Regions from separate parts of the Homo sapiens genome. Here region 1 is linked to region 2. The links are contacts of gene promoters, found by promoter capture Hi-C in blood cells and fetal thymus (Javierre and others, 2016). All regions are on one chromosome and are shown on one strand. Each heading gives the region's core, a stretch centred on a gene start or on the middle of the fragment in contact. The rest is flanking DNA. Distances are from core to core; before and after follow the strand shown.

Region 1 (5,211 bases), core at 2,535-5,034, 520 kb after region 2:
ACAGGCATGAGCCACCATGCCTGGCCCATTTCTTCTTAATTTTTAGTAGGAAATACCTATTTTTGAGAACTTGAAGATGTGATGTTTTTCATTAAATTTTGCTCATTATACAGATTTCACAAAGACTCCAAGGTCAAGACTCTGGTTTTCTTGTTGTGATTCCTTTTTTTGCATTTAATAAAATTCTGTAATTATTTTATTTGAAGGTTGTCAAATGAACTTCCAGATTATGCAAATTAGATAATGCTGTCTAATATCTCTACCTGCTTATCTGCCTATATGCTAGAGTCCTCCTAATGGGCTTAAAGAGTTGGATTAGAGGTCATGGATTTCCTAGGAGATTATGTTTTAGGTAAATACTGCCAATTTGACTTAGTGCAGTAAAAATATGAGACTTTATTTCAGTGAACAGTTTGCAAATCAGGAATATACAGCTTCCAGCGTGAAACCAAGGTGCCTTTCAGAGAATAAAGTGAGGGTTTGGCTTTTATAAAGTTCCTGCCCTGGTTCCCAATCAGATCAGTTTACGCAAATGAATGATTCAAATTTGCTTAGTTCCGATTGATTGACAGCTGAGCCCTGATTGGCAGAGGTAGTGAGACCTAATTTGTCTGTTTGGGTGAGCTCTGATTGGTTGGTTCAGTTGAGCTCTGAAACTGCCAGAGTTGAACAGAGGTGTGGACTTCTGGGGAACTCAAGGTACATGTATGACTTACGGTCAGCAAATGACTGCTTGGCTCGATTTTAAATTTAGACCCAGTTAGCTGCTCCGGATTTATCTTGAAGGATTGGGTCTTTCAGGTTCACATTTGTTTACATAACACACATCCCAATTATAAATGTATACTAGATAAGAGAGGAAAACAGCTAACTGCTTTTCTGCTGTTTGCTTATTGAATCTTACTTATTTTCAAGTGAAAACAAGCAACACTGGTTGCTGTTTTTGCACTACTACTATGCTTTTGCCCATGCAACTCCTGCCTGACATGCCCTTTTCTGCATCACTTGCAGTATTTTACCGACCTTATTAATTTACTATCTATAAACCCTTAAAGAATGATGACTGCAGCTGGTCACGGTGGCTCACGCCTGTAATCCCAGCACTTTGGAAGGCCGAGGCGGGCGGATCACAAGGTCAGGAGATCGAGACCATCCTGGCTAACACGGTGAAACCCCGTCTCTACTGAAAATACAAAAAAAAATTAGCTGGGCATTGTGGCGGGTGCCTGTAGTCCCAGCTACTCGGGAGGCTGAGGCAGGAGAATGGCATGAACCGGGAGGTGGAGCAGCCTGGGCGACAGAGCGAGACTCCATCTCAAAAAAAAAAAAAAAGGCCAACGACTGTGTCTTTTACACATTCACTCATTTATTTATTCAATAAAGATTTAGCTGGCTGGGCGAAGTGGGTCACACCTGTAATTCCAGCACTTTGGGAGGCCAAGGCAGGCAGATCACTTGAGGTCAGGAGTTGGAGACCAGCCTGGGCAACATGGCGAAACCCCATCTCTACCAAAATTCAAAAGTTACACAGGCGTGGTGGTGGTGCACGCGTGTAGTCCCAGCTACACAGGAGGCTGAGGTGGGAGGATTGCTTGAGTCCAGGAGGGGGAGATTGCAGTGTTACAAGAGTTATTAAGAAATTATGTTAGGCAGATAGAGAGGAAAAGGGGTTGTTGTAAAGTTATTTCTTTTAAAGCAGCTCCAGAAACATTTCTTGTCTAGCAGGAAAGCCCTGGCTCTTAGAGCTAGGCCAGCAACCTTTGATACGCAAATACAGGCCATTAGAAACCGGGTCCACCCAAACATGGCAATTCCTGCCCCCTTCTTCTTGCCCTTGCCCAAACATGTGCCTGGTAACATGGCTGCCCCCATATATCCCTACCTGTGTGGAACATCATGGCACCCTGAATTTGCATCTTAAAAGGCTAGGGTGGGATGGCCAGTTTTTTCCTCAGGCTACCATGAAAGACGTGGCTGATCAAACCAATCCCCTGAGCCCTACGCAAATCAGACACCACTTCCTCCAGTCTACTCGTGTAAGCAGCCACTTTTCCATGGCTTGTGGGGTTTCATCTCTCCACTTTGGAGCCCCTCTGCCCCCTCCCCCTCGTCTGTGCATGGGGGAGCTTCTTCCTCCTTACTTGCCTATTAAACTCTCTGCTCCTGAAAACCACTACGTGTGTCCATGCCGTTTTATCTAATTTGACTCGAGACGAAGAACCCTGGTGTTCCTCCACTCATTGGAACCGTATCAGCAGCAAGACAAGATCGTGTCACTGCATTCCAGCCTGGGTGACACACTGAGACCCCATCTCAAAAAAAAAAAAGAAAATATTTAGCTATGTGTCAACTCTGGAGAGTATAGCAGCAATAAAAACTGACAAAAATCCCTTCCCTCATGAAACTTATATAGATTAGATGTAATAAATGAGTAAAAGATACCACGTATTAGATGCAACAAGTGCTAAAGAAGTAGAATAGAGAGTGTTGCTGGGAGTCGGGTCGCAAGTTTTTAATATGGTTGTCAAGGAAGCTTTTATTAATGTGACATTTGAGCAAAGACCTGAAAGAGATGAGGGCAAATTGTGGATATTTTGGGGCAAAGTGTTCCAGAACGAGGGAATAACAAGTCCAAGGATACTAAAATGGTAATATGTTGGATCATGCTTGACTTGTAGAAGAGCTACAGGGAGGTTCATGTGGCTGGAGTAGAGTGAGGGAAAGAAAATTTTGTTCATTGTAGTATTCTTAGGAGTTAGCACTGTGTCTGAATCATATCAGGAATTAATGTATTTTTAATGGATCAATCAGTATTTTGGTGCTAATGTAAAAAAAGTTGCCAAACATTAACATCATTTTTCACAGAATTAGAAAAAACAATTCTAAAATTCATATGGAACGAAAAAAAGAGCCCCAATAGCCAAAGCAATCCTAATCAAAAAAAACAAATCTGGAGGCATCACATTATCGAGCTTCAAATTATGCTATAAAACTGCAGTTACCAAAACAGCATGGTACTGGTATAAAAGTAGGCACACAGACCAATAAAACAGAACAGAGAACCCAGAAATAAACCCAAATACATGCAGCCAACTGATCTTTGACAAAGCATACAAAAACATCAATCGGGAAATGGACATCCTATTTAATAAACGATGCTGGGGAAACTGGCAAGCCACATGTAGAAGAATGAAATTGGATCCCTATCTCATCTTATACAAATATCAACTCAAGATGAATCAAATACTTAAATATAAGACCTGAAACCATAAAAATTCTAGAAGACAACATTGTAAAAACTCTTCTAGTCATCAGCCTTGGCAAAGTATTCATGACTAAGACCCCAAAAGCAAATGCAACAAAAACAAAAATAAATAAATGGGACCTAATTAAACTAAAAAGCTTCTTCATAGCAAAAGAAATAATAATCAGAGTAAACAGACAACCCAGAGTGGGAGAAAATATTTGTAAACTATGCATCCCACATAGGACTAGTGTCAAGAATCTACATGGAACCCAAACAAATCAGCAAGAAAAAAAAAAATCCCATCCAAAAGTGGGCAAAGGACATGCACGGACATTTCCAAAAGAAGATATACAAATGGCCAACAAACATATGAAAAATGCTCAACATTACTAATCATCAGGGAAATGCAAATTAAAACCACAATGAGTTACTGCCTTACTCCTGTAAGAACGGCCATTATTAAAAAGTCAAAACACAATAGATGCTGGCATGGATGTGGGGAAAAGGGAATGCTTATTCACTGCTGGTGGGAATGCAAATTAATACAACCTCTATAGAAAATGGTATGGAGATTCCTTAAAGAACTAAAAGTAGGTCGACCATTTGATCCAGCAAGCCCACTACTGACTGTATGTACCCAAAGGAAAAGAAGTCATTTATATAAAAAAAACACTTGCACACACATTTATAGTAGCACAAATGCAAAAGATGTGGAACCAACCTAAGTGCCCATCAACCAATGACTAAAGAAAATGTGGTATATAGACACCACGGAATACCACTCAGCCATGAAAAGGAATAAAACAATGTCTTTGGCAGCAACTTGTATGGAGCTGGAAGCCATTATTCTAAATGAAGTAACTCAGGAGTGGGAAACCAAAACCTGTATGTTCTCGCTTGTAAGCGGGAGCTAAGCTTTGAGTACATGAAGACATACAGAGTGGTATAATGGAGTTTAGAGACTCAGCAGGGGGAGGGTGGGAATGGGGTTAGAGATAAATAACCACATATTAAGTACAATGTACACTACTTGGGTGACAGGTGCACTAAAGTCTCAGAAGTCACCACTACATTATTCATCCATATAACAAAAAAAATTTATACCTCAAAAGGTATTGATACAAAAATTTTTTAAATGTCAATATTTCACAAAAACCTAAATTGTACTAAACCCAGTGCAGTTACTTTTGTAACGAGGAAAATATTTTGTCTGGTTGCCCTGACTTCAGTTATGCTACTGAAACAGTTATTGTGTCTGCAATTGGTGGGTTCTTGAACTCACTGACTTCAAGAATGAAAACGTGGACCCTCACGGTGAGTGTTACAGTTCTTAAAGATGGTGTGTCGGGAGTTTGTTCCTTCTGATGTTCGGACGTGTTTGGAGTTTCTTCCTTCTGGTGGGTTCGTGATCTCCCTGGCTTCAGGAGTGAAGCTGCAGACCTTGGCGGTGAGTGTTACAGCTCTCAAGGCGGTGCGTCTGGAGTTGTTCATTCCTCCCAGTGGGTTCGTGGTCTTGCTGGCCTCAAGAGTGAAGCTGCAGACCTTCGCCATGAGTGTCACAGCTCACAAAGACAGTGCGGACCCAAACAGTTAGCACCAGCAAGAGTTACTGCAGAGAGCAAAACAACTAAGCTGGAGACCTGAGCGACTTGCCGCAGCTGGCTCTTGGCAGCCTGCTTTTATTCTCTTATCTGGCCCCACCCACATCCTGCTGAGATTGGTCCATTTTACAGAGAGCTGATTGGTCCGTTTTGACAGGGTGCAGATTGGTGCATTTACAATCCCTGAGCTAGACACAAAAGTTCTCCAAGTCCCCCACTAGATTAGCCAGACACAGAGCACTGATTGATGCATTTACAAAGCCTGAGCTAGATACAGACTGCTGATTGGTGCATTCACAAACCTTGAGCTAGACACAGGGTGCTGATTGGTGCATTTACAATCCTCCAGCTAGACATAAAAGT
Region 2 (4,692 bases), core at 2,098-4,597:
AGAAAAAGCCCATATTTTCTCATGTTAACTCTTTGAACTCAAGGTCACTTCTAAGCAGATAATATGCAAGTCTGTTTTTTAACAGTAACCCAGTTGGCAGCTTAGGGAGCTTATCCATCATCAGACCTCGCCTGTGAAGGACTCCACCATTCATGAAGTAGATTGATATAGCAGATTTATACAGCCATAAAATTATGAGTAATATCAAGAGACTGACCTTGGTTATGTCGAGATGAAACATACAAATCACATATGGCAATGCATGAGAAATCTCATGCCAGCCCCCAGTCTGATTACACCCACCCATATCGCCAATTCACAGTTTCACACAGGCTGAAATGAAGAACAAGATGAGTTGTAAAAGCATGAAACACCTTTTTAATACAAATCCTGCAACTACAGTAAGCCACAGTTTTGAATTTGCAGTCGTTATTACTGCCCGAGCTCTCTATGGCTCCCAGTCAAATAACTGTGATTTCTTAGGGACATTACCTCCGAACATAAATTCACTCAGCAAACATTTACTAAGTGCCTGTTGGGCACTAGGTATACCAGAGAAATAAGAAAAAAATGAAGATATCTCTTTCTGTCTTTAAGGAGAGCCTCAAAGAGAAGATTTTTGTAAATGGAAAATTACAGAACTGTGAACAGGAGCCATGGGAGCACAAAGGAAGGAGGAGTCAACTGCAGGCTGTGGAGTTGATGAAAGCAACACACTGAAAGTGATATTGGAGTTATGTTGACATTTCCTGGAGTAATGACCCACAACCCTGCAGTATCTCTTCCCCGTGTTTCCCCATCTATTACTGGTATATAGCTCCCACTCAGGGCTAGCACTAGGCATAAATATCAAGTAGACTGAGTCTTCTTTCATAATCTCATATCCTTTTCCAGCCAATATCCCTCAAAGCCCAGGAATGTTCAGTTAGGGTCCTAGCAGGAAACAGCCTTCAAGCCAGATGGGTCATGTGAGGAGACCTTAATGAAGGGACTCCTTGCAGAGATATGGTCAAGGTTAACGGAACAAACAAGGATGATGGGCATCTGCAGGCTAACAACTATGGGAAGCCATTATCACCCCTAGGGCTTAAGAGATAAGAATAGCAAATACCGTTACTGAAGCCCAATGGGAGCTAGAACCATGAAGAAGGGGTTATTCAGGGAAGACAGCATTACAGAAGAACATAGCTACTGCCAAAGACATCACAGAAAGTGGGGAAGGAGCAAGAAAGATGTATCCCAGCCTCTCTTTCCTCCCTGCTCTCTGACATCTCTCCTTTCAGTGTCTCCCATTGTATGAACCCAAGCAGAAATCAGCTTGCAAGAGAGTCTAGGTGATGCAGTCTAGCAGTCAGCCTCAAGGACACAGAACAGAACAGAGAAGGATGCACTCTAAGGAGTCAGAAGGAGAACAGCCAGCACCAAGTGACCTTCCCTTGCCTTTATAACTTACTTGTTTTATTTCCTGTCCCCCCAATTATCAAAGTGACAAGTCTTCACACCCAAAGGAGCAATGACATTGTGGAACAGCCCTGGACCGAGGGCCAGAAGATCTGCAGTCTCCTTCAGGTTGCTCCTTATGTGAGCGTGGTCACTCTCTAGGCCTAGAGAAAAATCTAGGCCTCATCTTTAAATGGGGATATTTTCTTCACCTACTACAAATAGTCAGTGAGATTGTCATAGGAGATAATATGTTTAAGGAATATTATTCCATATTATTGGAGAGTTCTTTGAGAATCACATGCAGGTAATATATAAGCTTTATTATTTCCAAAAATATCACCCTTTGCCTCTCTCCTCCTTTCCTCTTTCATCTTCTGCCTCTTACCCTCACCCCCAATCTTTCCCATAAATGATGACACTTTCTGGATTAAATTTTCATGGAAGCAGAGACTATGTTTGTCTTGTTCGCTGCCATATCCCCCAAAGTGCCTGGCACATAGTAGGCCATCAATCAATATTTGAACAATTAATATATGGATTTTTTTTTTTTGAGATGGAGTCTCACTCTGTCACCCAGGCTAGAGTGCAGTGGCATGATCTCGGCTCACTGCAACCTCCGCCTCCTGGGTTCAAGTGATTCTCCTGCCTCAGTCTCCCGAGTAGCTGGGATCACAGGTGCGCACTGTGCACAGCTAATTTTTTGTATTTTTAGTAGAGATGGGTGTGCCGAGCTAATTTTTTGTATTTTTAGTGAGATGGGGTTTCACTATGATGGCCAAGCTGGTTTCAAACTCCTGACCTCAAGCGATCCGTCTGCCTCGGCCTCTCAACGTGCTAGGATTACAGGTGTGAGCCACCACTCCCAGCCATATGATTTAAAATTTTTTTATTTGTATAAATTTATGATGTACACATGCAATTTTGTTATAGCATAGATTGTGTAGTGGTCAAGTTGGGGCTTTAAGGTATCCATCACCCAAGTAACACACATTGTACCCATTAAGTAATTTCTAATCATCCACCCCCCTCGCCCTTCCAAATCTCCATGGTCAGTCATTCCACTCTCTATGTGCATGGGTGATTTGAAAGAACTCCTTCCTCTCATGTTCATCAGTCACACCTATGGTGGTGGCCAAGTCTAAGTTCTGGACACTGCCCACCAGTACCAGTCCTCAGCCCAGGGAGCAAGTGATTAGGGCAGAGAAGCCTGGTGGTTCTAGCCCATGGGCCCTTTCCCCTATTTGAGGCAACAGAAGGCATTTGCTTCCCCAGTGACTTGAGCTCCCCGAATAATGAAAAACTCTCCCTTCTACTTGATTAATACTTCTCACAGTCAGTAAACAAACCCAGAGCCATGGTTTTATCTTTCTTGGATCTTTTATTACAGGTAGGGCTTGTGTTGAGGAAAAACATAAATAAACCTGAACAATGGATCTACTCCACTGTTAATGCCCCTGAAACTCTGACTACATCCTCATGAGACTCTGGAAGTTAGAAAAGAGGAGAAACAAAAGTAAAAGAAAAAATATGAGCAGAAAAGAAAGGAGGCCATGCTCAGAGGGAAAGTGAGGAAGTTCCAGAGTCTTTCTAGAACGGCTCCCCCTCCCTCAGAAGGTGGTGACATCAAAATCCTACAAATATGAACTGGGAAACTGTTCAGGCAATCCATTGCTCCTGGAGTCTGAGTGTAATACATACACGTTTCTGCCCCTGGCTTCTATATTTTTCACCACAAGTTTTAGGAAGAAAAGCTGTGCCTTCTAGGCTGCCTCGACTTTGGAGTTAGGAGAGAAGAGGACGTGGGATACTCACGGGAATCGCTGTGCTTCACCATTAACACAATGATGAGAGGTAACAGGAACGCCATCAGTTCCCCCATAGTCCTTCTCTTTCCGGGTTCTTTTAACCAAAAACTGACAGGTCCCTTCTGAGAACCTCTTGGTGACACACAAGGCCTTCTCCCAATAAGAACAGGGGAAGATATGCAGTGTCATCAGTTGCTAGGTTAAAAAAAAAAGATAAAATGAAAGCATGAACACCTTCTTCGGTAACTTTTAAGTCTTTGCTGGTTTCAGACACTGCTTGCTCCTTTTGGTGTATCTATCTTCACCCTATTCCCAATTTTTAAATATTTATGGAGCATAGTCATGTTCAAAGCACAGAGAAACAAAGATTAATCATATCTGGTCAATCAGGGAGCTCAAGCTGCTGCCTCTGCTTCCCTGGAGCTTAGAATTTTGCTTAAGGGTCAGTAAGAAAGAGTCACAGTTCCCACGGCTTGGAACTCCCTGCTCTGGCTCCCTATGATGCTGAAGTCTCTGTCTGAGATAGCAGGTGTCACTTAGATTGTCCCGTAATCTTCAACTTAGGTCTGTCCTCCCTGCTACTCTAGCACCCAGCACAATAAGCTCAAAACACTTACTGAATAAAAGAAGGCAAGAGAAAGGCCTACAGAAGATTCTGAGGGGCAGCCACTCAGCTTGCTCAATCAGCAATCCCCAAGATCAAGCTGTGGCTACACTGTCATAAGGAGCACATGACAAGCTGGAAAACAGCAGCTTAAGCTTGTCCAGGGAGCTAGGGAACAGGCCCAGACAGGAAAGAGGAAGTAGACATGAAGGGGAGAGGTGAATGGAGGCATGGCCATGAGGCAGGCAGGCTTGAGCTGGGTTCAGGGACCTGGGTTTGCCTCCCCACTATTTGACCATGGGCAGAATCCCAAATTGCACCAAGGCCTGATTTCTTCAACTTTAAAAGCAAATCCTGTCATATATTTCACAGAGTTGTTGAAGGATCAGAAGTTCTGTTTATGATGCATTTAGTAGGTAGTAGAACCTTATGTACCGGTTGTATGGTAGGTTGAGAATTGTCGCCCCAAAGATGTCCACAACCTAATTGCCAGAACCTGTGGATATATTACCTTAAATGGCAAAAACAAAATAAAACAAAACAAAACCCTTGGCAGATATGATTAAATTAAGGATCTTGAGACAGAGAGCTATCCTGGATTATCTGGTGGACCCAGTGTAATCAGAGGGGCCTTATTAGAGGGAGGCAAAAGGGTCAGAGTCAAGGAGATGTGACAATGGAAGCAAAGGTCAGAGTGATGATGCCATTGCTGAAAGAAGGACATGAGCCAAGGAACGCAGATGGCCTCTAGAACTAGAAAAGAGAAGGAACAGATTCTCCTTAGAGCCTCCAGAAGGAACACAACACTTTGATTTCAGCTGATAGGACACATTTTTGGAC

The links. The method cuts DNA at HindIII sites, captures the fragments that hold promoters and counts their contacts. A CHiCAGO score of 5 or more calls a contact.
Region 1: a contact is called between a fragment that was not itself captured here and the fragment with the promoter of MR1 in region 2, in 14 of 17 cell types (total CD8 T cells, naive CD8 T cells, naive CD4 T cells and 11 more). The highest score is 12.9, in total CD8 T cells.

What each region holds. Positions count from the first base shown.
Region 1 is chr1:180,509,101-180,514,311 of GRCh38, reverse strand. No RefSeq gene overlaps it. Among named protein-coding and RNA genes, the nearest start is that of ACBD6, 9.1 kb to the right of the region's middle. The HindIII fragment of the contact is 760 bases long and covers 3,405-4,164 here.
Region 2 is chr1:181,032,638-181,037,329 of GRCh38, reverse strand. MR1 (major histocompatibility complex, class I-related) reads right to left here and starts at 3,347. Exons shown (of 6, transcript NM_001385161.1): 1 at 3,256-3,347. The coding sequence starts at 3,322. RefSeq lists enhancers at 3,438-3,547, 3,678-3,777, 3,978-4,167. The HindIII fragment of the contact is 2,248 bases long and covers 1,762-4,009 here.